7 separate regions of the Homo sapiens genome follow, and regions 2, 3, 4, 5, 6 and 7 are each linked to region 1. The links are contacts of gene promoters, found by promoter capture Hi-C in blood cells and fetal thymus (Javierre and others, 2016). All regions are on one chromosome and are shown on one strand. Each heading gives the region's core, a stretch centred on a gene start or on the middle of the fragment in contact. The rest is flanking DNA. Distances are from core to core; before and after follow the strand shown. Region 1 holds the start of CRIM1 (cysteine rich transmembrane BMP regulator 1). Region 2 has its middle 390 kb from the start of MIR548AD. Region 3 has its middle 410 kb from the start of MIR548AD. Region 4 has its middle 420 kb from the start of MIR548AD. Region 5 has its middle 440 kb from the start of MIR548AD. Region 6 overlaps VIT (vitrin). Region 7 overlaps VIT (vitrin).

Region 1 (3,758 bases), core at 1-2,500:
GTGCGGGGAGGGCGGTAGGGCCGGGCTCCCCGAGGGGCTCGCGCGCGGCAGAATCTGCAGTGCCCCCCGCCCGCGGCGCCCCCACCTCGGGGAGCAAGGCCGGGCCACCCAGTCCCAGCAGGAACGGCCACACGTGTGCGCGTCTGCGCGGGGACAGGGGCGATCCTCCACTCGCTCGCCCCCACCCACCATACCCAACCTCGCCCGCGACTGCCTAAGCGTCGGGGGGAACAAGGAGAGGGAACGCAGGGCCGCGGGGGCACTCTCCTGGGGGCGGCGGCCGCCCCTCTTCCCGCAGAGCCCTCTTTCCTCCAGAAAGTCTCGCCCAAACTTTGTTCGGCACAACCAGCGCCGAGGGGGCGGCGCAGGCCAGGTGGGAGGGGGCCCGCAGCGGGCGGCCGTACCTTCGCAAACGCCCGCTTCGTACTCGGTGAGGGAGTCGCCATTGAGCGGGGGGCGGATGACACAACGCAGCCCCCGGTCGCAGGTTCCGTAAATCCCGAAGGTGCCGCCGCAGCTCTCGTTCCTCTGGCTGGCGCACGTGTAGCAGCAGCCGCAGACGCCCTGCACGATGCTCCCCGGGCAGTTCCTGGGCTCCTCGCACTTGGACTCGTCACAGGGCAGGCAGACCAGCGCCCGGGTGCCGGAGCGCGCCAGCAGCAGCAGCAGCCCCAGCAGCGAGACCAGGAGGTGCCCGCAGCCGGCCAACCCCCTGTCCCCCGCCACCAAGTACATCCTCCTGCGCCGCCGCCGCCTCCTCCTCGCAGCCGGGCCGGGAGCGGGGCGGGCGCCCTCCCCTGCGCGGGGCACACGCGCCGCCGCCGCCGCACCAGCAGCCCGCGGTCCTCACCGCCCCTCTCGGGGCCCCCGGGGCGCGCCTCCCCTCGCGGGGCGAGGCCCCCGCCCCTTCTGCGGGCCGCGCCGACCCCGAGCCCACGAGCCTTGGCGCCGGCGGCAGCTTCCCCTCCTCCTCCTCCTCCTCCTCCCGGGAGGGAGGGGGAAAAAAGAAAAAAGTTTCCTCCCGGCAGCTCCGGTTCAACCCAAACTTCTGGCGCGGCGGCGGCGGTGGCTGCTGCGCTCGGCTCCAGCCCGGGCCGGCGGCGCCTCCTCCCTCTCCTCCTCCGAGTCGGCCGGCCCCGCAGCGGCGCAGCCTCCGGGCCGGTCCCCGCCTCCCGAGCTGCCGAGTGGGCGCGGTGGCGCAGCACAAGATCCGCGGCGTCCGCTCCGCGCGCCCCGCTCGCCTCACTCCTGCGCCGCTCCTCCGGGCGCTTGTTTATGGCTGGAGCCTCAGCCGCTCGGGCTGCGCCCTCCCCCATCCTACCTCCTCCCCCAGACCTTCCCCCCACCCCCACGCGCCGCGCGCCGCTCATTGGCTGCCCCCCCTCCCCGGCCCGGCCGGCCCCCTCCGCCTCCCCCTCCCCCTCTCGGGCGGCCGGGCCCTTCCTCCCTCCCTCACACGCCTCCACCTCTTCCCGATCTCCTCCTCCCCGAGCCCGGCGCACCGAGCCGGCCGTGCCACCGAGCTGCGGCTCTGGCCCCGGCGCCGCGGGTGCGCTGCGGATGGGCTTGGGGCGCACCCAGCGAGCAGCGAGAGTCGCGGTGTCCCGGGCGCTCGCTGGCACCGTGGCCGCAGCGGCCGGCCTGGGAGCCAGGAGGGCGAGGCGGCTGCACCTTCGGGGCCAGATTGGAGTTCGAAGAGTGGCGGGTACCCCAGAAGCTCGGGGCCGGGGCGATGGCTGCAGCCTCGGGAGGGTATCGCCGGATCGAACTCCGGGAAAGGGAAGCAAAGGCATGGAACCTCCGCACACTGGATGAGAATCCATCTTCCATTCGAGCTGGGAATAGACTTTGTGAAAGATATTATGTAATGGAGTCTCGGGAACCCTGAGACCTCTCCAGCGAAGCTGAAGTGAATTAATTAAGTGCTTTAAACGGTCTTGGTAAATATTCCGCGGGAGCTGGGGAGGACCGTTGGGATGGCTGTAGCTTGAGTTGAATTTTAACTGTCCTCATTCTGGGTTTTGTCGCTCTGCTTTCTGTGCCAAGGTGCTGTGTTACGGGAGAGAGTGACTGGAAAGTAACAAAGCTGAATCTTTCTCCCTGGAGTAAGGCCGAAGACTGGATTACTACACGCCTAGACGTGACACTACACCCATAGATCTCATGCATCATTAATGCCATATGACATTGCCATTTTCTTTCTCAGTTCACGGACAAAAGTGGTGGGTTTTCATTGTCTTCACTGATTGTCAATGCATTAATAAAGAAGATGTGTGGTACATAGTCTTTGTGATAAATCAGGTAAAGAAGCAACGGAAGTGATGCAAAATGCACGGTGTGGAGATGGTTTCTCTTCAGTGGTTGTCAGAAAAGGTTTTCGTAATGATGGCTCTGTCATTGATGGGATATGAAGTAGTAATCCGCTCCGTAGTGACCTACCATTCACAAGATGGGTACCAGGTGAATAACATTAATTAATTGACAAAAAGTGACTGTGGTCAATGGGGGAAAAAATCGATCCCGTGGCAGGTGTGACGTGGGAATGGCTGGCCCACCCTCTGATCCAAGATGGTCTGGCTGCAGGAAGGTGGCAGCCAAGTGGATTCTGAAAATCGTGACTAATGAACCGAAAGTTAATAGCTGGCAGTGCAAGGAAAGAGGAAACAAAGCTACCTTTGAAATGTTATGTTTGTGGAACAAATTCATACTTACGATAAATATTTTAGTTTAACCACTCTGTCTAATCCTGAACCCAAAAGCCAGAGTTACCAGTGGACTATTCCCCCATGATGGGCATCAGCAAACTAAACATTTCTCCTATCATATTTCTTTGTCCAAGGAGAGGAAGAGGCTCATTAATTATCATTGATTATTATAGGGCCATGAGGAAGATGTTCAACCGTGGAAAAGGGGAGAGAGCATTGCATTTTCTAGACGGGTTTAAAGAGTTGTTGCAATGAAATGATTCCTGTAGTTGGGTGGGAAGTCCGATTAGATGATCTCCAAAGGCCCTCATACCCTGTGGGTCCATAATAAGTGTTAAGTGGCAAAATCGTTTAAAATATGCTAGGTTTTCTATTAGAAAAACCGAAGAGACTGGGCGTGGTGGCTCATGCCTATAATCCCAGCACTTTGGGAGGCCAAGGTGGGCAGATCACTTGAGGTAAGGAATTCGAGACCAGCCTGGCCAACATGGTGAAACATGGTGAAACCCTGTCTCTATCAAAAATACAAAAATTAGCCGGGTGTGGTAGCGCATGCCTGTAATCCCAGCTACTCAGGAGGCTGAGGCAGGAGAATCACTTGAACCCAGGAGGTGAAGGTTGCAGTGAGCCGAGATTGCGTCATTGCACTCCAGCCTGGGCGACAGAGCAAGACTCTGTCTCAAAAACAAACAAACAAAAAAACTGAAGAAAAATAAAACACACATTGTTAAACATTGTTCTTTCTTGTCACCGAACAAGGCACCAGCACTTCAGTGTGGGATTTGCCAACAAACTGTCATCATTGCTCTGTGTTAAAAGGTCCCTCCCACTCTTGCAGAGGAGGTTATCTGTATTTCTGTTCAAATGCAAGTATAAAGACATTAAAATGTAGCAGATAACATTGTAGGACCTGCAGGAAAAGCCAAGGTCAGGTGATGAGAAAAAGGCAGAAGTGAGAAAGCTACTGTGGTTAGGAAAGAAGGAGGTAATAAGCATTGTCAAAGTTTAGCTTCTATTTATTTTTAAGGGGATATATTAAGGATTAAGGAAAGC
Region 2 (3,758 bases), core at 401-2,900, 500 kb after region 1:
TTTTAAAAAGGATCTCTTTTAAAGGAAACACACCCTACTACTTCAGATTTTGAAAGTTAAGTCTATGCTTGTTTTAGTCACATCAATCATCACATTTTCATATTTTTAAGATTTTAATCTGCTTAGCATCCTGATTTTGTCTTTCTACTCCTTTTAGTCCCTTCTTGTCTTGCTGGCTGTCTTCCCTAGCACTAGTCCCACTCTGAATCCTTGTGATTGCCTTAGTTTTCCTTTTCTGGAATTTTACCAGTTCCATTTTGCATTCCTGAAGGTATAGCAACAAAGAAGTATAAATAGGATTCTAGAGGAAAAAGTAGAAGGGAAGGGTGATGTACTTTCTTCTATTTTTGCAAACAATCCATGCCTTATTGGACTTTGGTTTACAGAAACACGATGAGTCTCTGTTCTCAAAACCAACCTCTACTCACCGAATTGAAATCAGATTTTTAAAAAGTGAATTATATTCATTCTTTCAGCCTTTTTCTCTATCTCCCTCCCTCCTTTTCTCTTTCTTTCCTTTCATCTCTTTGTTTTCCTTTCTCTTTTTCTCGTCCCTCATTCTAACTTCAATAAGGCAGCCATTTGGGCTATGGCATTGTCTTAGTCTGTTTGGGCTCCTATAACAAAATATCATCAACTAGGCAGCTTAAACACAGAAAATTATTTCTCGTAAGTCCAGAGGTGAGGTCAGGGTGCCAGCATGGTCGGTTGAGTTCTGGGGAGAGGCCTCTTTCGAGTTGCAGGCTGTTGACTTCTCACTATGTTCTCATTTGGCAGAAGGGACAGTGGACTCACTTGGTCCTCTTTCATAAGGGCACTAATCTATTCAGGAGGGTTCTGCTCTCATGACCTAATTACCTCCAAAAGGCCCTGCCTCCTAATGTCGTCACCTTGGGGGTTAGGATGTCAACATATGAATTTTGGGGAGACACATTTAGACCATAGCAAGCATTCTAAAATAGAAAATTTCATCCTCTAATTACCCCTAAGACACTATGCAATAAGAAAGATTATTATGTACTGCTGTAAATTCATATCTTTTAAATTATTGGAAACATCATAAAGACAGGAATTTTCCTGGAAATTGAGGGAGAATACTGCAGAGACTATAGACTCAGGAGAAACTAAAAAAAGCTCTCAGATTCAAACTCGGAAATAAGGACATCTAAGCGTGAGCTATTTTATTACTCATTTGAGATGTATTCCTTTGTTGCCATCTCTTCCCTTTACTTCCTTTAGCCTTAGTCCCTTTTCAAGTTCAATCACTTTAAATTTATGTTTGTTTTTCCTCTTGATTTTATCTCACCTGACACCTGAAATCAACATGCATTTCATTTGTTCTTGATTGTGCTACTCCACTTGATGGTCAGTAGGGATACAAGAAATAGCACAAGAAGGCAGGGTACTAAAATGTATTGAGTATCTGCTATGTGTCAGGCACTTTAGTAGGCACTGTTCTTTTATTGTTTCCTGAAATCCTTACAACATCCCTGTGAAAGGATTGTTAAATTTTTCCTTTTACTCATGAGTTATCTGAGGCCCATGAAATCACTTTCCCTAGGACACGTGGCTTTACCCTTCTATTAAGTAGCTTTCAAACACTTCCATTAACCACAGCATTAAGAGATTTTTAGAACCAAGCATTTTCATTGTTTAGTTAACCTTTGTTTGACCATTGCAATATAGAGGGAATCTCTATTTTTCTCCCTTCATTCTTATTTTCAGCAGAGCAAAATTTACTACAGAATTTTGTAGATCAAGCGGAATAGTTCAAACTGTCTTTTCATAAAATGGATCTTCAGGGATATTGAGCACATGTTTATGCTCCTATCAGCTATTCTTCCTTTATACAGTGTTCATTGCCCTCATACAGTTGAGAACTAAGGATTGTGCCTTCCTATGTTAAGAAGGCAGTCAGAAGTGGCCTTTCTTTATCTGGGCTGCTCTCTGTTGCAGTTTTGCTGATGATTTTCAGTATTCTTAGAATAATGACAAGGATCAAATTGTAATTGCAGGAAACTTCAAAGATCTCATAGTGGGTGCCTTCCTTTACTTATGCTTGAACTTCTAAAAGAGACTAGAACTAATCAGAGATAAACAATACAAAGGATGAAATATAAAATTAATTAAAACAAAGTTTCTTGATAGGTCTCATTTAAAATATTCATTTGGAATTGGAACAGAAATGTATTTTAAAAGTCTATCTACTAATGAACATGCATGCTTCTAATGTTAATAAGTTATCAATTAGCTAATTTTATAATTGTGCATGGTCTACTGAACACTGAGTTTCCTCAGTAGGAAAACGCTATACTTTTCTTCTCAGGGGCCTTCAAGGGGAAATGAAGTAATTACTGTTGATGGTCCTTTACTCCCTAAGTGCCATAAGTTCCAAACCCACTCATTTGTAATTCTAGTCACAAATTCTGTTTCTCAAATTAGTTTAGGTGATAACTGGGGGCTGACAAAACACTTATTTAAAATCAAAACTAGACTATATATAAACATAGGTTTTTAAGTTATGAAAAAATGACTTTAACATTTCTTTATAAGAGAAAATAAATAATGGATGTGATAAGGTTTACATTTTTTTCATTAGTTCTTCCAAACCCAAATCCGTTTATATTCTTTAACTGGTAGTCCACTTGAGTGATTTGACTCAGTATAATACAGCCTGATGTCTCGTCAACTGTAGCATACAGAGACTTAAACTATAGCAGAAACAAAATGTTCCATCTTTTATATTTGTTGCTAAGATCCTTCAAAGATACATTCAAATGTTTAACACAGTAGGTATAAAAAGTCCAAATATGGGCATAAGAAATATAGTAACTCTCAGAAATTTAGGAGTCTGGTTCTGCCTGGTTTTCCCCTGGTTTCTATTGATTTGATTCTTTAGATCCTCATAATCAAATTACCTAATTCTCCCCTGTCTTTAGTATCTGCAGTAGCGTTTCTAAATCTTTTTATTTGCCCTGCACCTATTTGAAAATCTGGTGAAGGTTTTCTTAGAATAATGTTTTAACATGTATATAATAAAATACATAGGATTACGAAGAAAGCCAATTATATTGAAATGTAGAATCAAAGTATTAAACAATTTTATGATATAATAATTATGTGCTTCCTTATTTATGCATTAAATAACACTAGTTAATGGTGGGTCTAATACCTACCTACCATCATTAAGTTGTGATCTACCTAAATAATAGGTCAAGATTTCAAGAACAATCATAGTGAGATATGAAAATGTCTGATTTTGATTGATGACAAAGTTACAGTTATTCCTTTAAATTACTGATTATTTTCCTACATCCATAATTGAAGGAAATTGCTATTTTTTAGGTAGAGGTTGATAAAACTAAGGGTATCTTTTTTTTCCTGTCGGAGTTCCTGAACTACCTGAATTCTATCCATGGCCCCACTAGGAAGTTATGAAGATTTAACACTCCTGCCTTGGAATAACACAAATGCTCTCTGGTAGGTGGTGCTAAATGCAATCTCTTCTTACCACTTAAAATTTCCAAAGTGCCTTGCTTTATCCTTTAGCCTCTGTTGGAGAATCCTGCTCATGCCATATAGTACATTAGAATTTAGCATAAAAATAACCAGACCTTGGGGAAACACCATGTCTTACTAGAGATACATTTCATAAATTCTATACTTCAAAATAAGTCAGACACAATTTTCTTTAGCATAAAAGAATTATTTAATTGCAATAAACCCAAGGATGGAATGGGAAGTCTTCAGTCATCAAG
Region 3 (3,758 bases), core at 866-3,365, 480 kb after region 1:
TATTACTTTTATGTGTTTACTGAATGCATTATACTTACATTTTCATGTTTATTAATGCTGTTCATACTCTTCCGCCGATGCTGCGTTTTCAATATATTTCATTCTTTTGTGCAATACATAGTTCCCTATTGACCATTTTATAAAAGTGATGTGCATTAGCCTGGCTTTCAAGGTTCTGTCTAAATAGTCCCCGACTCACTGTTCTTCCTAGGTTTCTCTGTATACTCCACTACAGAGATTTGAGTATAGCCATATAGGTCTCCTTCTTGTAGCTCCCGACTGAGTTGTGGTTTAGTGCTGTGGTTCTCAAATACCAGACAATGCCCTTCTCACTATATGTAAAAGTCTTATTCACTTACATATAGATTTCTTTGTCCCTACCCCAGATTTGCTGAATCAAAATGATTGGGAATGGGGATTTAGACTGCTGCTGTATCCACATGCTCCTTAGCATGTACCCTGAAACCAGAAGACTTAGATTTTAACCTTGTCTTCTATATTTATTAGCTTTGTGACCAGGGTAAATCACTTAATCTTTCAATGCCTCTGTTTCTTAATCTATAAAATGGAAGCAATAATAGAACTATGTTAAAGGGTTGTTAAGTGGATTAAATGAGGTAATATCTGTAGAGTGTTTATAACACTTTCAGGCATAGTAAGCACGATGTAAGCATGTGTTATGTAGATAAATCAGAAGTTCTCTCATATGATTTTGAAGCAAATAAGGTTTGGAAACCAATGAAATTGAAACAAGAAGGCTCTGTAATGCTCGGCCTATTGTTCATTAAAGATCTGTTTTCCTACTTCCCATTATTCTCAACGGGAGAAGTATCATCTGACACTATGTTGTCAGCTAGTGTGCATGTCTGACGAGTTTTATTTTAAAATACATGTTATCTGATAATGAATTATTTTTGTTTTATTCTCTTTTATGTAGCATTATATTAATTTCATTAAAATTATGCTCATTGTTAGATTTTATCATTTATTAATTTCATTTTAGGATAATAATGGGAGTATCATAAAATATTTGTTATGTAAAAGGGCATGACATCTGATAGGCCTGAGATTCAAAACTCAGATGTAAAAGGAATTTCCATATCAGTCTCTCTCAGTACTATAGAACATAGCATTCTTTCACAGTACATATTAACACTTATATACTTAATTAATACATTCTTATTTCAAGCTATTTTGGCATGTTTTAGTCTATTTTAATGGGAATGTATAGTCTGTCTCATCAAGTAGATTGTACATTCTCCTAGAAAAGAAAATGTTGTCTTGATTCCTTTTGTATCTTTTTCACAGCAGGCATTCAATAAGTGGTGTTGACAGCTTGACTCAAGTTTAAAGAGAAGCAGGAAAATTCAGAGAGTAGAGTCAGAAGTTTAAAGTACATTGAAAATAGAGTGCCCGAAAAATCTTAGTTCACCGGAAGAAAACTAGCAAAGCTACAGGAAACAGAGAAACAGAGAATGCCTTCAGGGCTCTAATAGGAAATGTGATGTTGAGGCAAGTGGAAAATTAAGCCGTTAAAAGATATATGCAGGTGTGTCTTACCTTTGGAAAACCTAATATAAGCTTCTAAGATTTAAATATAACAAAAAGAAAAACTAGGTAAATTAGAAGTTTTTTTCCTGGGCAGGGGAGGGCAATATCAATCATATAAATATTATGATTGGGTATCTACTATGTGTCCACAACTTTGCATTAAAAAGTATTGAAGTTTTATTAGCTTTAAAAATATTCACTTAAATGAACTTGGATATACTTAAAGTGGGATTCAGTTCATAAAACATTTATTTTATTCAAGGTTTTTTGGTAGCACAATTATTTTTAAAATTAAATGAACCACTATGTTAAATAAAGCTAGGTAATGACTTAATTAGAAGACCTGAAGCTCAGAAAATATCGAATTTACCATAATAAATAGACACCACCCTATCTTTCATGAGTCCATCTAAAACAAGGGTTTAGGCAAACAAACATGCAAACAAAAAGAGAAAATAAACACACTGCAGATTATTTTTGTTGAAAGCAAATGAGGAGCTATGTGGCCTAAGTTTGGATGGAATGTTTATTCAGTTGGTTGACAATCAATGTAACTTCAAAGCAAGCTCACTGTATCAATCATGATAATAGCCTCCCATCAGTGCAGTAAGATGGGATACCATCGCCTTTGCTTGTTTTCTCTCTCATCCTCATTAAGTTAGAAACTCTATGGGTCTTCAAATGATCTATGTAGTTTACATACACATATATGTGTACACACATACACATATATAAACAGAATTTTAACTATACTTATATAGCAATTTTATTTTTAGAAATAAAACAGGAAAAAACATATACAAAATAAAATAACTTTTAGTTCGATATAGCTTCCTAGATAATAAGATTTACTCTTCCTACCAGCCCAAATCTCAACCAGCCCAAATCTCATGAAAGCATATAGAAAAGAAAATGGAATACATAGGAATTTTAGAAACCTGGGCATGAACACCAAAAAAGTAAAAGGGTGACACATTTTTAAAGAAACAGAACACGTGATATCAGGTTGAAAATGAAATGCAAGATTGCTGAAAAAATGCACATTGAGGAAAGAGAGGTGCTCAAAAAACTACTTGTTCTCAGAGGTAATAAGCTTTAGAGAAAGAGACCATGTGCGGTCTGCTTGGTAATTCATTTAAAGGCTGTGTAATAGTTTTGCCAATTGTATTAATCAGGTTCCTAAGTGTAAGCAATAAATGCCTGTTTCGAATGAATCATATAATTATTTGTATAGCTAACAGAATTGTAGAAGGCTGGAGGACCAGGCTGGGAACTGGGCTGCCAGGAGCAACAACCAAATATAAGCCACAGAGGTGACCTTATTACAAAATTTCTGGTACCTCATTCCTCATTCAGGTAGAATTACAATAATTTGCCACTGAGTCACTTGTAATCCAGGACAGTAATTTTACAGACATGGGCACAGGTCTTTGCTTTCAGATAATCAAATCTCTAAAACATCAAGGGAAAAAAAAAGAATAAAAATTTAATTAATCTAGGTGGGGAGATGCGGTAAAAGATGGCGGAATAGAAGGTTCCACAAGGACACCAATTTAACAACTATCTACACAGAAAAAAAACATCTTTATAAGAACCAAAAAATCAGTGAGCTCTCACGGTACCTGGTTTTATCCTCATATCCCTGAAAGGGACACTGAAGAGATAGAAAATACAGTCTGGAATCACTGAAGCCACTGCTCCCCCCACATCCTCTGCAACAGTGGCGTGTTATAGAGACCCTCTCTGGTACTGCAGGAGGGAGAACACAGCAATTGTGAGTCATTGAACTCAGTGCTGTCCTGTCAGAGCACAAAGGTGAACTAGACCAAACTCAGCTGACACCTGTCCACAGAGGGAGCATTTAAACCAGCCCTAGACAGAGGGGAATCGCCTATCCCAACCGTCTGAACTTGAGTGCCCCCAAACCCCACCACTGGGGGCCAAAGTGCTCTTGTTCTCTAAGTAAACTTGTAAGGCATTCTAGATCACAAGGATTGCAACTCGTAGGTGAGCCCTAGGGCTGAGCTAGGCCCAGAGACAGTTGACTGTAGGGGCACCTGACATACTGAGACACCAGCTGGGGCAGCCAAGAAAGTGCTGGTATCTCCCTCCCCTAATCCCACAATGCACAGTTGAGGGCTCCAGAAGAGACCCCTTCCTGCCACCTGAGGAGAGGAGAGGAAAGAGAGGGAGGACTTTGTCTTGCA
Region 4 (3,758 bases), core at 639-3,138, 460 kb after region 1:
AAATTGAAAAAGCAGCACACAAGAAAGTGCCAAAAGAACCAAAAATCAGATGAGTGATCACAGTACCTGGTTTTAACATCATATTAAGGCAAGAGGCACTGAAGATGGTAGGAAAGACAGTCTTGAATCCCCTACAATATCCCTCCTCCATCTCCCAGCAGCATCTTTGTGGCACAGGAAGATAATCTGTGTGCTTGGGGGAGGCACAGTGGCGCGACTGTGGGACTTTGTGTTGGAACTCAGTGGTTTCCTGTCACAGCAGAAAGCAACATGGGGCAAAACTCATCCAGTGCCCACGGAGGGAGCATCTAGACCTTCCCTAGCCAGAGGTGAATAATCCATCCCAGCAGCGGGAACCTGAGTTCCAGCAAGCCTCACCATCATGGGCTAAAAGGCTATGGGGTCCTACATAAACTTGAAAGGCAGTCTAGGCCACAAGGACTGCAAGTCCTGGGCAACTCCTGGTGCTGTGGGTTTGGAGCCAGTGGGCTTAGGCTGCAAGCAACCTAGTGAGACACCAGCTGGGGTGGTCAAGGGAGTGCTTGTGTACCTTCCCCCAAGCCCAGGTAGTACAGCTCACAGCTCCAGGAGAGATTCCTTCCCTCTGACTGAGGAAAGGAGAGGGGAGAGTAAAGAGGACTTTGTCTTGCAACCTGGATACCAACTCAGCCACAGTAGGATAGGGCACCCAGCAGAGCCCAGAGGCCCCCATTGCGGGCCCTAGCTACAGGACTACATTCCTAAATGTAGTCCTATCCCCCTGGGATAGGGATAGAAGGGGATCCTCTGCCTTGAAGGGAAGGGACCCAGTCCTGGTAGGATTTATTAGGCTCCTGCTGTGTAAAGAGCCTTTGGACCCTAAATAACCAGCAGTGGTAGCCAGGCAGTACTCAATGCAGGCCTTGGGTGAGACTCAGAGGTGTGCTGGCCTCAGGTGTGATCCAACACATTCCCAGCTGTGGTGCTATGGGGAGAGTGTCCATTTGGTTGAGGAAATGAGAGGAAAGAGTAAAGAAGACTTTGTCTTGCAGCTTGGGTACCAGCTTGGTCACAGTGGGGTAGAGCATCAAGCCACTTCCTGGGGTCCCCAATTCCAGACCTTGGCTATTGGATGACATTTCTGGACCTGCTTTGGGACAGGGGGGAGCCCACCCTTCCCTGAAGAAAGAGACTCAGGCCTGGAAGCATTCACCACAAACTGACTGATGAGCCCTTTGGCCTTGAGTGAACATTGACTGTAACCAGTCAGTACTTGCTGTGGGCCAGAGGCAGTGGTGGCCACAGGGAGAGATTTTTCTGCTCGAGGAAAGGGGAGGGAATAGTCAGAAGGACTTTGTCTTGTAGCTTGGGTGCCAGCTCAGCCACAGTAGAGTAGAGCACCAGGTAGATTCCTAAGGTTCCTGATTTCAGGCCTTCGCTTCCAGATGGCATCCTCAGACTTGCCTGAGGCTGGGGAAACTCACTGCCATGAAGGCAAGAACACAAGCCTGGATGTATTTGCCACCTGATCACTGTCAAGCCCTTGGGCCACAAGTGAACACTGGCAGTAGCCAGACTGTGGTTACTGTGGGCCTTGGGCAAGACACACACACACACACACACACACACACACACACACACACACACTCACACTCACTATCTGTTTGGGGGAAAGTATGGGAAGACAAGAGTCTTTGCTTGGTAATCCAGGGAATAGTTCCAGATCTTACCCAGGACCACCAAGCCAGTATATCTGTGAGTCTGCAAGAGCCACAGCATTACTGAGCTTGGAGTGCCCCCTAAAGCAGATATAGCTATAGTGACCAAAGATTTAGATCACAATGCCCAAGTCCCTTCAAATACCTGGAAAGCCTTCCCAGGAAGGCTGGGTAAAAGCAAGCCCAGACTGTGAAGACTACAATACATACATAACTCTTCAGTGCCCAGACACTGACAAACATTTACAAGCATCAAGACCATCCAGGAAACCATGACCTAACCAAATGTACTCAGTAAGTCACCAGTGACCAATCTTGGAGAGACAGAAATGTGACCATTGAGATGGAGAATTCAAAATTGCTGTTTTGGGAAAGTTTAACAAAATTTAATACACCAAAGAGAAGAAACTCAGAATCCTACCAGATAAATTTAACACCAAGTTTCAAATTATTAAAAGGAATCAAGTAGAAATTCTGGAGCTGAAAAATTGACAGGCTCAAGAATGCATCAGAATCTCTTCATAGCAGAATTGATCAAGCATAAGAAAGAATTAGTGAACTTTAAGACAGACTATTTGAAAGCACACAGTCATAGGAGACAAAAGAAAAAATAAAAGGAATCAAGCATGCCTATAAGATCTAGAAAATGGCCTGAAAAGGGCAACTTTAAGAAGTATTGACCTTAAAGAGAAGGTAGAGAGAGAAATTGGATTATAGAGTTTATTCAAAGGGATAATCACAGAAAACTTGGCAAACCTAGAGAAAGATGCCAATATTCAAGTACAAGAAGATTGCATAACACCAAGCAGATTTAATTCAAATAGGACTACCTCAAGCCATTTAATAATCAAACTCCCAAAGGTCAAGAATAATGAAAGGATCCTAAATGCAGCGAGAAAAGAAACAAATAACATACAATAGAGCTCCAATATGTCTGGCAGCTGACTACTCAATGGAAACCATATAGGGAGGAGAAAGTGACATGACATATTTAAAGTGTAGAAGGAGAAAAACTATTGTCTTAGAATAGTACATCAGCAAAGGTATTCTTCAAACATGAAGGATAAATAAAGACTTTCCCAGAAAAACAAAAGCTAAGAAATTTCATCAACACTGGGTGGGTCTGTCCTACAAGATATGCTAAAGGGAATTCTTCACGCTGAAAGAAATGGACATTAATGAGCAAAAAAAAAAAAAAAAAAAAAAATCATCTGAAGGTACACAACTCACTGGTAATAGTAAGTGCACAGGAAAACAAAATTGTGTAACACTGTAATTGTGGTGAATAAACTACTCAAATCATTAGCAGAAATTCTAAAAATAATACTCTAACAAATTTTCAGTATAATAAAAGTAGAAACAACAAGGGGTTAAAAATCAGGGGAATGCAGTTAAACTATGCAGTTTTTATTAGTTTTCTCTTTACTTGTTTGTTTTTTTGTTACCCAATTAGTGATAAATTGCCATCAGTTTAAAATAAGGGATTATCAGATATTATTTGCAAGCCTCATGGTTACCTCAAATAAAAAAACATACCACAGATCCACAAAATATATAAAACATGAAATTAAAACATGCCATTTGAGAATATCACTTTCACTAAAAGGAAGAGAGAAAGGAAAGAAAGAAGTAAGAGAAGACCACATGACAACCAGAAAACAAATAACAAAATGGCAAGAGTAATTCCTTACTTATCAGTAATAATATGGAATGTAAATGGAATAAACTCTCCAATTAAAAAAATAGAGTAGCTGAATGAATAAAAAAAAAGACCTAAACATCTGTTGCTTACAAGAAACACACTTCACCTATGAAGAGACACATAGACTGAAAATAAAGGCTTGGAAAAGGATATTCCATGCCAATAGAAACCAAAATGGAGAAAGAGTAGCTATACTTATATTATACTAAATAGATTTCAATGCAAAAACTAGAAAAAGAAATAAAGTAGGTCATTGTACAGTGACAAAGGAGTCAATTTAGCAAGATAATGTAGCAATTGTAAATATATATGTGCTCAACTCTTGAGCACCCAGGTATGTAAAGCAAATATTATTAGAG
Region 5 (3,758 bases), core at 912-3,411, 440 kb after region 1:
ATCCTGGAAGGATAAGCAGCTAGTATACTATTGGGTCATTAAACATTGGAAACTCTTTCTGTTTCTCTGGCACCTGCAAGGCATGGCTTAGCTAGATCCCCAACTTGTAAAAATGGAGGTATTGCTCTGTTGTCCTCTGGTAATTAATATAACAAAAAATAAGTCTGATGTGAATATAGTTTTTATTTTTCTTTAGGATGTAAACATTTCTTTTCTCTGAATGTTTAAAAAAGAAGAAGCAGAAACAGCAGCAGCAGTAGCAAGAGGGACTGTTATGTCGAATCCACAGTTTAAAATATTTACTAGCTTATCCCTTATAGACAAAGTTTGATTATTCCTGTTTCTGAATCAAATATTTGTTTTGCTACAGTATCCACTCTGTTCTTTACTGCCTCAGCTCAATTTTTTAGTTTAGTTGTCATATATTTTTTTCATCTGAAAAACTTCTTTCCTTGTCTTTGGTTTATCTTTTTTATGGATGTAATAATTGTTATATTTTTCTAGATGCAGTTCTTCTTTCCCCAGCTGCAATACAAACTAGAGGGCCAGTTTTAGGTAGAAAATAAAATAAGCTTATTTTAGAATATTAGCATGAAAGAGTGGGAATTTGTATCTATTTTGTTTCCTGTATTATCCTTAGTGCCAGAAATTGAGAATTAGGATGTTGGCTATAAGAAAGAACTTTCTTATTTTGGCAGGAAAATTAGCTTTGCTGCAAAGGTTGTGTGTATGTGTCCATATTTATACTTGCAGTTCCTGAAGTTGTTTAAGTGATTTGTTTTCTGCCACCTGATCTATGGCCTATCCCCACCCACTACCCTAAGAAATGGAAGGTTGGGATGCCTGTAATCCATCAAAAAGTCTTCTATTCAAGGGAAGAATGGAAACAGCTATCAGAGAAAATGGGATTTGGCCTAACTCTCTTACCATTTATGGGTGTGTGTGAGATCTCACTCCTTGTCTTACTGACATGGCTGTGTTTGTATGAGTCTGGAGTGGCAAGGCCCGTGGCTTTCCTGTGGGCTGGCCACATTAGCTGGAAGGATGAAAATGAGTGCCGCAGTGAGTTTCTATATATCTGGGTGGGCACTGGGGCAGTTTCTGAAATCTTTTCATTTCTTGAATTTGTACAGCTCCTGGCAGTTTTAGCTCAGTAGTTTCCAGAGCTCTGTTGGAAAGCCCTGCTCACTTAGAAGCCAATAGGGTCCCTTCTTTACCTCCATCACTTTGATTGATTTGACAAATGGTTATTATTTTCCATAACCTGATCTTACCTTTACTACATCTTAAATAAATCCTTTAAAAATATTTGTATTAATGACAAGTATCTTTCCTGTTTTTCAGCACTAATAAAGTTTAAAAATACAATTTAAGCTTGTATTTTAGTCATTTCAGAGAAATTTGGGGAGGAGGAAGAATTGGTTGATTGGCTTTAAATGGCCATCCTTAGACATATACATTTCAGTGTATTTTTGCAGAATTAATTCTTTCAACCCTCAGACAACCTTGTATTATATTTATTTACATTTTTACATTCCTTTGATATGGCTACGTCAGGTTCACATGGCTGGTAAATGACCTTGGCTCACACTCTGTCCTCTGCTCAGATTTATGCAGAGGTGGCACAGGCCCACCCACCTGCTGCATTGGAACTCATCCTGGGAATGTCCCTTACCTGAAGCATCCACTGCATTACCTTTCCTTAGACTATCATTATAAAACCATTGGATATGAGAATCCAGTTCTTACAATTTAGTGAGAACATTAATTTTCTTTACTGCAACCAATTTAAGAAAGTTGATACAGACTACATTGGGGTATGTACCTTCTGATTTGCTGGTATCCAACATTCATCCATTTGATCCCCCTACAGCTCAAATGCATCCTAGTTTTGCAACTTGGAGTTTAAAAGGTGAGTGATTTGTATCCATCAGCTCAGCAGTGACAGCAGGGCTAAATCCATCACTTGGTATTATTTGGTGTTTCTGCACAGGCTGCCAAATGCCTTCCAAAGCCGCTGAAATTGATGGTGACCATTTTCCACATCCTTCATTTGTGGTTTACACTGTGACTCTCTTCAACTTCAATTTCTCAAGGGACTAAATTCTGTCTGTTTTGTGTTAGATTTTGCAGTTATAACCTATTTCATCATTTGAAGTTGCACCTTCAAAGAGACTTTTCTTGTATCTGAGAATTGGCCAAACCACTTACAGGGAGTAATACTTTCTTTTTAGATTCTGTTGCTGTCTATTGTTTTCTTTAAACTGACCAGGAGGGGTATATTGTAATTTGGTAGTGTCAAATGCTTTCAGTGTGTCTGCTTTGATTTGATCATCTCTCCATTTTGTTGGGTTTTATTTTACAGTGACTTACATTTCCAATAAGTTGCTACATGTATATAAAATCCTGGGCTAACTCTGCTCTTTTGGACTGGTTATGTTGAAAGCATGTCTGGCAGTAGGACATCAAGTAGCACCTGCCTGGTTAACAGGAGTAGGTTGGTCACAAAGAGTGGAAGCAGAGATGCCTGAGTACAAGACACTAAGGAGAATGTTAGCCTGTAATATTGATGCAGGCAGCTATTGTCTGTGGCACTAATGAGAGATGCACTGTTTATATTCAGCAAAAGCCTCACACAATTCATGAAGCAAAGAGAGAAGAAACTCCAAAAAGACAGAAGCTACTGAGACTGGTTAAGGCTTTCAAATAGAAGCACGTCCTTAGTGTGAGATGCCTTCAGTTCACTTATCCAGTACCATAGAGAATAAGACCTTTTGTTTTGTTTTTAACTTATACACATTAAATTGGCCCTAAAGTTGTATGGTTGAAGGTGGAAAACATTTTTAAACTTGCCATTATGTTTTATAAGATTTTTGGTTGCTTTTGAATTTGTTCTATAAGGTTAATTCATAACTAGATTTTTAAACTTTAAAATCTGTGAAGCTTTTTCTACTCTATTTACCTCATTGATGCCCCATTTCTCTGACTACATATAGGATTGACGTGAAGGTAATGCAATAGACAAAGCTATGCATGTCAAATTCCAACAGCATCAATTAGAATTTTTACTATCTATGTCATTGGAAGCACATATCTTTTATGAAAAGTCTTCTTTATCCAAAATTCTTAGAAATCTACTTCCTGGTCAAGGTGGTGCCAACATGAATAAAATCTGTGCCTAACTATGAGGGACAGTTCTTCTTCAAGGTGAAATGTGAATAAATGATCAAAGTATGAAAGGTAGTGCTTCATAACATTTTAGTTTGAATATATTTTATAGATAAAATTTATAGAGACATATATAGAGAGAAGACAGACTATAATGGGATGATTGTGTAGAAAGTGAACTTTACTCAATGAAATAAAAAAGCATCTTAGGTATGTTTCTCATTTGTGACAGTGGGGTTGGCTTCAGGCAAGAGACCCACAAGCCCCATGGACACTTATTCCATGAGAAGCTTTTATTCTGTCTCCATTCTCCTCCCTGTATCCAAGTCCAGCTCCTGAGGTAAGTTGTGCCAGGCACATAACACCCCATAAAAACAGTGATCAAGAAGAGGTTTTCAGCTCACAGATAGCCTTGTATCTGCAGCTATTGCTGCTTCACACTGACTCTGGTGATAATTTCTTATGAATTTCATCAGAGCTGCTTAGGAACCCTTGTTGGGAGGTTGATTCTGAAGCTACTTGCTTCGCTGGCTATATCTTTGTTATTCTCCACTTGAAAATATCTGGCACAAATAAACCATTTGACAGTA
Region 6 (3,758 bases), core at 417-2,916, 440 kb before region 1:
TACAGGCATGAGCCACCAAGCCTAGCCATAGAGGCTACTAAGTTTTCAAGAAGGAGAAGACTTTTTTTTTTTTTCAGAGACAGGGTTTCGTTCTGTTGCTCAACCTGGAGTGCAGTGGCCCCATCTTGGCTCACTGCAGCCTCAACTTCCTGGGCTCAAGCATCCTCCCACCTCAGCCTCCCAAGTAGGTGAGACCACAGGTGCATGCCACCACACCCAGCAAATTTTTTCATTTTTTGTAAAGACAAGGTCTTGCTATGTTGCCCCTGGCTGGTCTTAAAAGCGTGGACTCAAGCAGCTTATTGTCCTGTTTTGGCCTCCCAAAGTGCCAAGATTACAGATGTGAGCCACCATGCCTGGCCAAGAAAACTTTTTAAAGTAGCCTTTCTACAAACACCAGAAATGGATCCAGGAAGAAGCGGTTGTGGGCAGTTTCAGGTGGGAACCTCAAGGATGCTGACCATGGGTTGATTCTTAGTGAGTCCATGCGGACCGGGACAAGTGGTGCAGTCACGAGGAAACCAGTCACCAGGACCTGGGAGAGAGGAGAAAGTGTCTGCCTCCCCGCTTCCTTTCCTCCATCCCTGTTTTCCAAACTGCTCTCTATCTCAAAATGATCTATGCTATCCCCAGAGGGTGGCTTATTTACAAGGCAAGGGATGAAAAACAGAAAGAGTGGACACCTTCAGGGAAGACAGGAAATTTAAAACAAGCTTAACCAAAGTGGGGCACTGGAGAAAAACCCAAATAGATGAAATTTCACCAGAAGAAAACCAGGTTCTATGGTTGGGACTAAACAGAAACAAACAACAACACAGCAATCAGCAGAATGGGGGAAATGGGGGTGTTGAGCTGGGCGTGACCTTCCTATCAACCTACAGTGTGAAGTGTCTTGATCTGAGGCTAAAGTCACAAATTCAGGGAGGAGGAGTCACACAGTGGAGGAGCACTGTGGCTTTCACTCTGTATTCTTCCCCTCGGGTTCTAGGGCTTATGGGTTCATTTTTTAAAAATTTTATCTATTTATTTTTTTCGAGATGGAGTCTTGCTCTGTTGCCCAGGCTGGAGTGCAGTGGCTCGATTTTGGTTCACTGCAACCTCTGCCTCCAGGGTTTAGGCAATTCTCCTGCCTCAGCCTCTGGAGTAGCTGGGATTACAGGCACCTTTCACCATGCCTGGCTTATTTGTTTTTGTATTTTTAATAGAGACGGGGTTTCACTATGTTGGCCAGGCTGGTCTCGAACTCCTGACCTCGTGATCCATCTGCCTTGGCCTCCCAAAGTGCTGGGATTACAGGCATGAGCCACTGTACGTGGCTGGGTTTATATTTTTACAAAGCAATTTCAGTAAATGCTATGTACACTTTTACTTATACAGCCCATCAGCCCCCATCCCTCAGGTCCTGGCCATTCCTCTACATACATTCATTCGCTTTTATTCCCTACCCTGTATGTCTACTGTAACACCGGGAGTCCTGGCCCCCATGCTTCTGGCTGCCCCTAAGAATCCCTGTGTTGGTCTCTGTAGTGTTAGTTGTGTGGCCATCTGCTAGAGGAACCTTCAGTCCTCAGTTCTGCCCGCAAAATTCCCCTGCTTGGAAATCATCAGAAATTCCCATTGCTAAACTTGATGTTTTGGCTTTCAAAGCATCCATAATTTAATTTCCAACTATCATGTTAAGGCTGTTCTCTTTCTTATTCTCTCTTTCACTCTCTTTTTTAGGATATTCCATGTTCTAGTCAAAATGAACTGTTCACCCTTTCCCACTTTTCTAGCTTTGTGCATTTGCTCACTTCTTCCCTCATCTGGAAAGCCCCAATCGTGCCCACCCTCCAAGCTCAGCGACCCATCTCCCTTACTCCCAGCCCCAGCTGACAATCTCTCTGCCTGACTCAGCTTTCTCTAACCAACACCGTGCATAATATGTGGCGCCTACAGGCACTCAATTAACAGCATTAACATTTCTTTGTTCTATTTCTGTGCATCTCTAAACCTCTAAACTTTGGTGTTCCATAGGGTGCTAGCCCCATCATGCATCTCTTCTTGGCTATGCACATCCCTGGGAGATTTCATCAACTCCCAGGACTCACAGACCATTCATGTGCCAAAAGCTGTCTGTGCACTGGTTGGTCCCCTTTCTTGAACCTCACATATACATAAAATGGCTTCCATACAGCTTCCTCTGGAAGGCACCTCAGGTTAGATATTTCCAAACCTGAAGTTGTTTATCTTCCAAGCCTGATCCACCCAACCACCCATCTCCCCATCTGCCTTCCTCTCTGACTCACTCAGTCATCCAGCAGTGTGTGTTCCTGACACTCTCCTCATCAAATACCACGTCCTGTCAGACCTACCTCTAAATATCTCTCACATTTCTCCCATCCTTTCCGTCCCCAAGTTTGGGCTTTCATCTCTTTCCTGAATATTGCCAGAGTTTCCTACCTGGTCCTAACCAGGGCAGCTTCTGCAGTGGATGTTTTATCCAGTTGGCTCTAAGTGTTTCACAGAAACAGATTAACTAAGAAGTTATAATGCCTCTTCCAAGACGTCTAATTGTGTACAGTATTTGTCATTTTGTGATCTTCACTTTAAGAGAGCCCCCAAACTGTATAAGCTTCAGAGTCCTTAAAGTCTGGATCTTCCTCTAGTGACCAAGGGTTATCAACATTTTCAGAGCCAAAAAAAAAAAAAAATTGGTTGAAACAAAAAAACATATTGGCTACAAAATGAAAAATTGCAAAATTGACACTGACAATAATAAATATGTAATTGTCCATCAAACATAATGTTATTTGTACATTTTTTACATTAGTTATAATGTAAAACATTAATAGTAAAATTTTTAATTTATAAAAACTGAATTACATTTGAAAATGATTTGTGGGCTAGATTTTCTCACTTTGCACAATTTCCTGAGGGTGTCTGGTGACTGTCAAGAAATAGTAGCCAATCATAAATTAAACGTTGCTCATCGACAAATAATTTAAAAAGCAAAAATATAAAGGTTCCTTTCAAAAGTTTTTACAGGCCAGGCATGGTGGTTCACGCCTGTAATCCTAGCACTTTGAGAGGCCAAGACAGGAGGATCCTTTGAGCTCAGGAGTTGGAGACCAGCCTGGGCAAACAAACACAAACAAACAACAACAACAAAAAACTAAAAAAAAAAGTTTTTACAGAAAAAAAGTATTTAATGTTGAACCTCTTCACTTAGTCATTTTCCTGATATCTTAATATTGATCATTAAGGTTCTGGGTTGATGTTGATCACTTTATAGAGCAATTGTCGATTCCCTGTCTCTTTCCCCTACCACATACACAGCTGAGTCTTGTTAGTTTTGGCAGTTACGTTCTATAAAGTTGCAGTTGCCATGAGCACTGAATTAGCAAGTACTGAGCCATTCCTTCCAATGGAAATACAAGGTTTGGTTCCTGTGAGCCTCTGGTCACAACATTTTCATCAACAGAACAATATATAACCTTGTTTTACATGTGTTTTTCTTTGAAGACATTGAATTTAATATATGCTTCTTACAAATAGTTAATTATATGCAGTATATCTTTATAATAAGATATTAGCTGAGAAGGGTTTACCATTTTCCTGAATTTGGATAACATGACCATAAATTTCTTTGGCTTTTAGCCTTACAACTATGCTGCCCACTATGTTTTTTTTTTTTTTTTTTAATCAGTCATGATCTCATGAATTCGTAAGTTTAGGCTCTTTTCCATAGCTTCATCACACCCTTTAGATATTATTTC
Region 7 (3,758 bases), core at 330-2,829, 420 kb before region 1:
GAAGATTGCAGCCGACTAAACGAAGGAAGGATTTAATAGAGATATGTGATTTTCCAGTGTGGGCTTCAAAAACTCGATTGTGTCTAGACAGGATTGAGGTGACCTGCTTCTACAGAGGTATATGATAAAAAATCCCAGCGACTTTAGGTATTGCAAGCTCAGTAGGAGATGAGCCAGTGGTGAGACAAGCCTTACCCCAAATGGAAGTTGGGGTGTTTTAGTGGGAGCAGAGTATTGAGGACTAGAGAGGCAATTGCCTGGCACACTACCCTGGCAGCACTGTGTTCTGCTCGGGGTGCCCTGGTGTATGAATTATTAATAGTCTACAGCATAGTTAGAGGGTGTACTGCCAAGTCCAGCAAAGACCTATTGGAGGGATTAAAGAGATATCCTGGAAAAGATGAGATATAAAAAAAGACATGAAGTCTAGCTTCATGTATTTGAAAGGCTCTCAAATTTAAGGCACTCTCAAAGGTTCTCAGCCTTCTTATGCTCTCAGAAATTGTCAAAGACCCCAAAGACCTTTAGTTTGTACGAGTTATATCTATTAATTTTTATCATTTAGAAATTACAACTGTGCACTTTCTCATTTGAAACAGAATACTGACAATTTGTTTAACTATTAATTTACTTTATTTTTACTTATTTTATTTTATTATTTAATTTTAATTTTTTTGAGACAGAGTCTCGCTCTGTCGCCCAGGCTGGAGTGCAGTGGCGTGATCTCGGCTCACTGCAAGCTCCGCCTCCTGGGTTCATGCCATTCTCCTGCCTCAGCCTCCCAAGTAGCTGGGACTACAGGCGCCCGCCACCACGCCTGGCTAATTTTTTGTGTTTTTAGTAGAGACGGAGTTTCACCGTGTTAGCCGGGATGGTCTCGATCTCCTGACCTCGTGATCTGCCCTCCTTGGCCTCCCAAAGTGCTGGGATACAGGTGTGAGCCACCGCGCCAGGCCATTTTATTTTTTTTGAGATGGAGTCTCACTCTGTGACCTAGGTTGGAGTGCAGTGGCGCCATCTCAGCTTACTGCACCCTCGGCCTCCCAGGTTTAAGTGATTCTCCTGCCTCAGCCTCCCGAGTAACTGGGATTACAGGCACGCACCACCGGCTCATTGTTGTATTTTTAATAGAGACGGGGTCTCACTATGTGGGCCAAACTCGTCTCGAACTCTTGAGCTCAAATGATCCACCTGCCTTGGCCTCCCAAAGTGCTGGGATTACCGGCGTGAACCACCGCACCCGGCCTAACTATTAATTTACTTCAAAGTGACAATAGAATTATTATATTTTAATGTAAGCGTTAATTTTTACTGAAAAAAAACTGTTTTCTAAAACCAAGGCTTCAGTGAGAAGAGTGGCAAATGTCTCCAATGTCTATCATAATAGAAGATAGCTGGAGTCTGTTATCAGCTCCTGCAGTCAGTTGTGATATGTTGTTGTTGTTGAAATATGTGGAGAAAATCTGTCCTCACAACAACATGTAGTCAGAGAAGGGAAGATGTCACAGAATCTCTGAAAGCGGGGTCTTTGGACCACACTTTGAGAACCACTGGTTTAGACAAATTAGTAATGAGGAGCTGAAGTTCTGGATAGTTACGTCTAATAGTGCCACCCACCAAATGAAGGGGCTGGGAATTCCCTACCACTTGAAGTTATTCGATATAGGGTAAAGGCCTCTGTCTGGCACACCATAAGTGATTCATTTTCAGGTGAGAAGTTAGACCAGATGTACTTTATACAATTCTTTCCAATTCCATAATCTGACGATTTTATAGCTGAGGAACTGGGCAGCTTGCCTTGTATACATGACTGCATCTGAGATGAGAGTTGGTCGAAGGATATCTAAGAACTCCAAATGTTCTTACCTGCCTTTACTCAGGGTGTGCAAATGGCTTCCTTCCCCTGTAGGAGCCATAATGGAGCTTCATAGCTAGTCTAGGTCTGAGCACCTAGAGTGTGTTGGGGGAGTCCTTTAAGTCAGGAACACTCTGAGAGTTCATGGGAGACTCTGAGGCACTCAGAGCAAAGTTGCAGGGATGATGGTGAGGAGAGAAGCAGCAGAAATTGGGTAGGATTTGAAGGTAAAGGAACATCTAGGAACATCTGTGTGGGTCGAGACAGAGTGGCATTATTGGGAGCATAAAGGAGAATGGAGAAGAAACAGAGAATCCCAGAGCTATAGAACTGGAGGATGGTAAACTCAGAAAAAGGGAATGAGGCCAAATACATTCAGCAGAATACAGCATTGAAACAAACCCAAAATTGTCAGGCAGTAAAAAATTGAAGATGCAAATCAGGTTATGTGCCTCCTTGCCAACCATCCCCCATGCCATATCCGAACCATGTGCTGTATCTGGGTATTTGTGCTTTATCCTGGAGGACTGTCTGAGGATGGGCCTGGTAGGTGCAGAGAGGCAAAGAGGCTGCTTAGTGAGGGAACCTCTTGAGGAGACATAAAGTAATGACAGCCCTTGGATGTCTTCGTTGACAAAGATTTTCTCTTTGATGCACTGAGAACAGATCAATCAAAGAGACATTTTCTCGAGGTTAAAATATCTTAGCATGCTCCCAAACTCTGGTGACCTGAAGTTGAGCTGCAGAGGCCAAGAACAAGTGTGTGGGGAGGTCCTCATGTTTGCAAAGTGCCACAGAGCAAATTCCTAGGGAGCAGAGATGGTAAGCAGTGGGCAGCTTACCCAGGCTGACATCCGCTCCAACAGGTTTCTGGAAGGCAGCTCCTGAAGGATCTTGCCTTTGGATACCTGAGGGGATTACACAGGGTCAGCCGATTTACACACAACCAGCAGGCTGCTTTCTTTCCTTATTTTGCCCCCGGTGAAAATTACCTTAGTTCAGATTTTCCTTGGAAGTCGGCCGAGCTCTCTGTGCCTGGTTGTACTTCTGGGGGTTGCAGAGGAGGCAAAAATCTTGGCCAAGGGGACAGGAGGAAACAGTGCTCCATGGATTGGGCTCCTGTAGAGTCCCACGAGTCTGTAGAGGCCTAAGATGGCCTTGGAGTCCTTGCCCTGGCCAGTGTTCTCATTCTCAAGCCTTTTTGTCCAGGACAACAGCATGTGCATTGGCAAAGGTGCAATTGTGAAGCTCATAGAAGCTGCTCGCCCTGACCAGAGGAGCCCATTGGGCCCCTGTTCCTATCCAGTAGCAAGCAAAACAGAACCTACAGTTTCTAAGAACATGTGGAGAGTGGACGAGTATCCCCCAGCAGGGAGAAGACCTGCTTCTGATCCTAGTGTCCTGTGGCTTCAGAGGGAATGGTATACTTCCACCAAGTCTATCAGCTCATAGACCGGGCTGTGAGTAGAGTTTGTGGAAACCGTCAAACCCTGCTAGATTTTCCTTTCTAATCTCTGCAGGCCTTAACAGTGCTGCAGAGAAGAGAATTTGCTGGATTCCTAGTTCTTCGGCCAAACCATACAGAAATGAAGACAGCCAGGGGCATTTCAGAATTCATAGGTGAACTCCCGGGGAGAGAGAATGTGTTTCTGTCCCCCGTGGCATAGAATTACTCAGGCAAAAAAGAGAGAAAAAAAATCCTCTTTCCTGGGAGATGATACAAATTTCCCTTCGTGTTTTACCGTAGTTCCTCAAAAATAAGCCCCAGAGAGTGCCCCTTTTCAGGTCTGTAAGAGCCCGGTTACTGAATCCTGAGACATTCCTATCACAACCTCTACAGACTCGCTTCAGGGGAACAGAGAGTGGGACAGGGCTTTGCTTACTTAACCACTTCTTTACATGT

Evidence for each region. Contacts are between HindIII fragments. The CHiCAGO score rates a contact against its expected background, and 5 or more counts as called.
Region 2: a contact is called between a fragment that was not itself captured here and the fragment with the promoter of CRIM1 in region 1, in 4 of 17 cell types (total CD4 T cells, total CD8 T cells, naive CD8 T cells and 1 more). The highest score is 5.7, in total CD4 T cells.
Region 3: a contact is called between a fragment that was not itself captured here and the fragment with the promoter of CRIM1 in region 1, in 9 of 17 cell types (total CD8 T cells, activated CD4 T cells, non-activated CD4 T cells and 6 more). The highest score is 9.6, in total CD8 T cells.
Region 4: a fragment that was not itself captured here is called in contact with the fragment with the promoter of CRIM1 in region 1 in 6 of 17 cell types (naive CD4 T cells, total CD8 T cells, naive CD8 T cells and 3 more); the score reaches 6.6 in naive CD4 T cells.
Region 5: a contact is called between a fragment that was not itself captured here and the fragment with the promoter of CRIM1 in region 1, in 4 of 17 cell types (activated CD4 T cells, naive CD4 T cells, total CD4 T cells and 1 more). The highest score is 6.9, in activated CD4 T cells.
Region 6: a contact is called between a fragment that was not itself captured here and the fragment with the promoter of CRIM1 in region 1, in 1 of 17 cell types (monocytes). The highest score is 6.2, in monocytes.
Region 7: a contact is called between a fragment that was not itself captured here and the fragment with the promoter of CRIM1 in region 1, in 9 of 17 cell types (M0 macrophages, M1 macrophages, M2 macrophages and 6 more). The highest score is 17.3, in M0 macrophages.

What each region holds. Positions count from the first base shown.
Region 1 is chr2:36,353,270-36,357,027 of GRCh38, reverse strand. CRIM1 (cysteine rich transmembrane BMP regulator 1) reads right to left here and starts at 1,250. Exons shown (of 17, transcript NM_016441.3): 1 at 405-1,250. The coding sequence starts at 735. CRIM1-DT (CRIM1 divergent transcript) reads left to right here and starts at 1,458. Exons shown (of 2, transcript NR_037631.1): 1 at 1,458-1,940; 2 at 2,047-2,279. The HindIII fragment of the contact is 11,087 bases long and covers 1-3,758 here.
Region 2 is chr2:35,858,128-35,861,885 of GRCh38, reverse strand. No RefSeq gene overlaps it. Among named protein-coding and RNA genes, the nearest start is that of MIR548AD, 390 kb to the right of the region's middle. The HindIII fragment of the contact is 5,131 bases long and covers 1-3,758 here.
Region 3 is chr2:35,875,395-35,879,152 of GRCh38, reverse strand. No RefSeq gene overlaps it. Among named protein-coding and RNA genes, the nearest start is that of MIR548AD, 410 kb to the right of the region's middle. The HindIII fragment of the contact is 1,063 bases long and covers 1,584-2,646 here.
Region 4 is chr2:35,892,803-35,896,560 of GRCh38, reverse strand. No RefSeq gene overlaps it. Among named protein-coding and RNA genes, the nearest start is that of MIR548AD, 420 kb to the right of the region's middle. The HindIII fragment of the contact is 7,448 bases long and covers 1-3,758 here.
Region 5 is chr2:35,910,817-35,914,574 of GRCh38, reverse strand. No RefSeq gene overlaps it. Among named protein-coding and RNA genes, the nearest start is that of MIR548AD, 440 kb to the right of the region's middle. The HindIII fragment of the contact is 1,569 bases long and covers 1,377-2,945 here.
Region 6 is chr2:36,796,035-36,799,792 of GRCh38, reverse strand. All of the region lies in intron 12 of VIT (vitrin), which reads right to left. All of the region lies in intron 1 of LOC124905990 (a long non-coding RNA gene), which reads left to right. Among named protein-coding and RNA genes, the nearest start is that of VIT, 100 kb to the right of the region's middle. The HindIII fragment of the contact is 1,901 bases long and covers 716-2,616 here.
Region 7 is chr2:36,774,007-36,777,764 of GRCh38, reverse strand. It overlaps VIT (vitrin), which reads right to left. Exons shown (of 16, transcript NM_053276.4): 9 at 2,698-2,763. The region is part of intron 1 of LOC124905990 (a long non-coding RNA gene); the gene reads left to right. Among named protein-coding and RNA genes, the nearest start is that of VIT, 79 kb to the right of the region's middle. The HindIII fragment of the contact is 4,595 bases long and covers 1-3,758 here.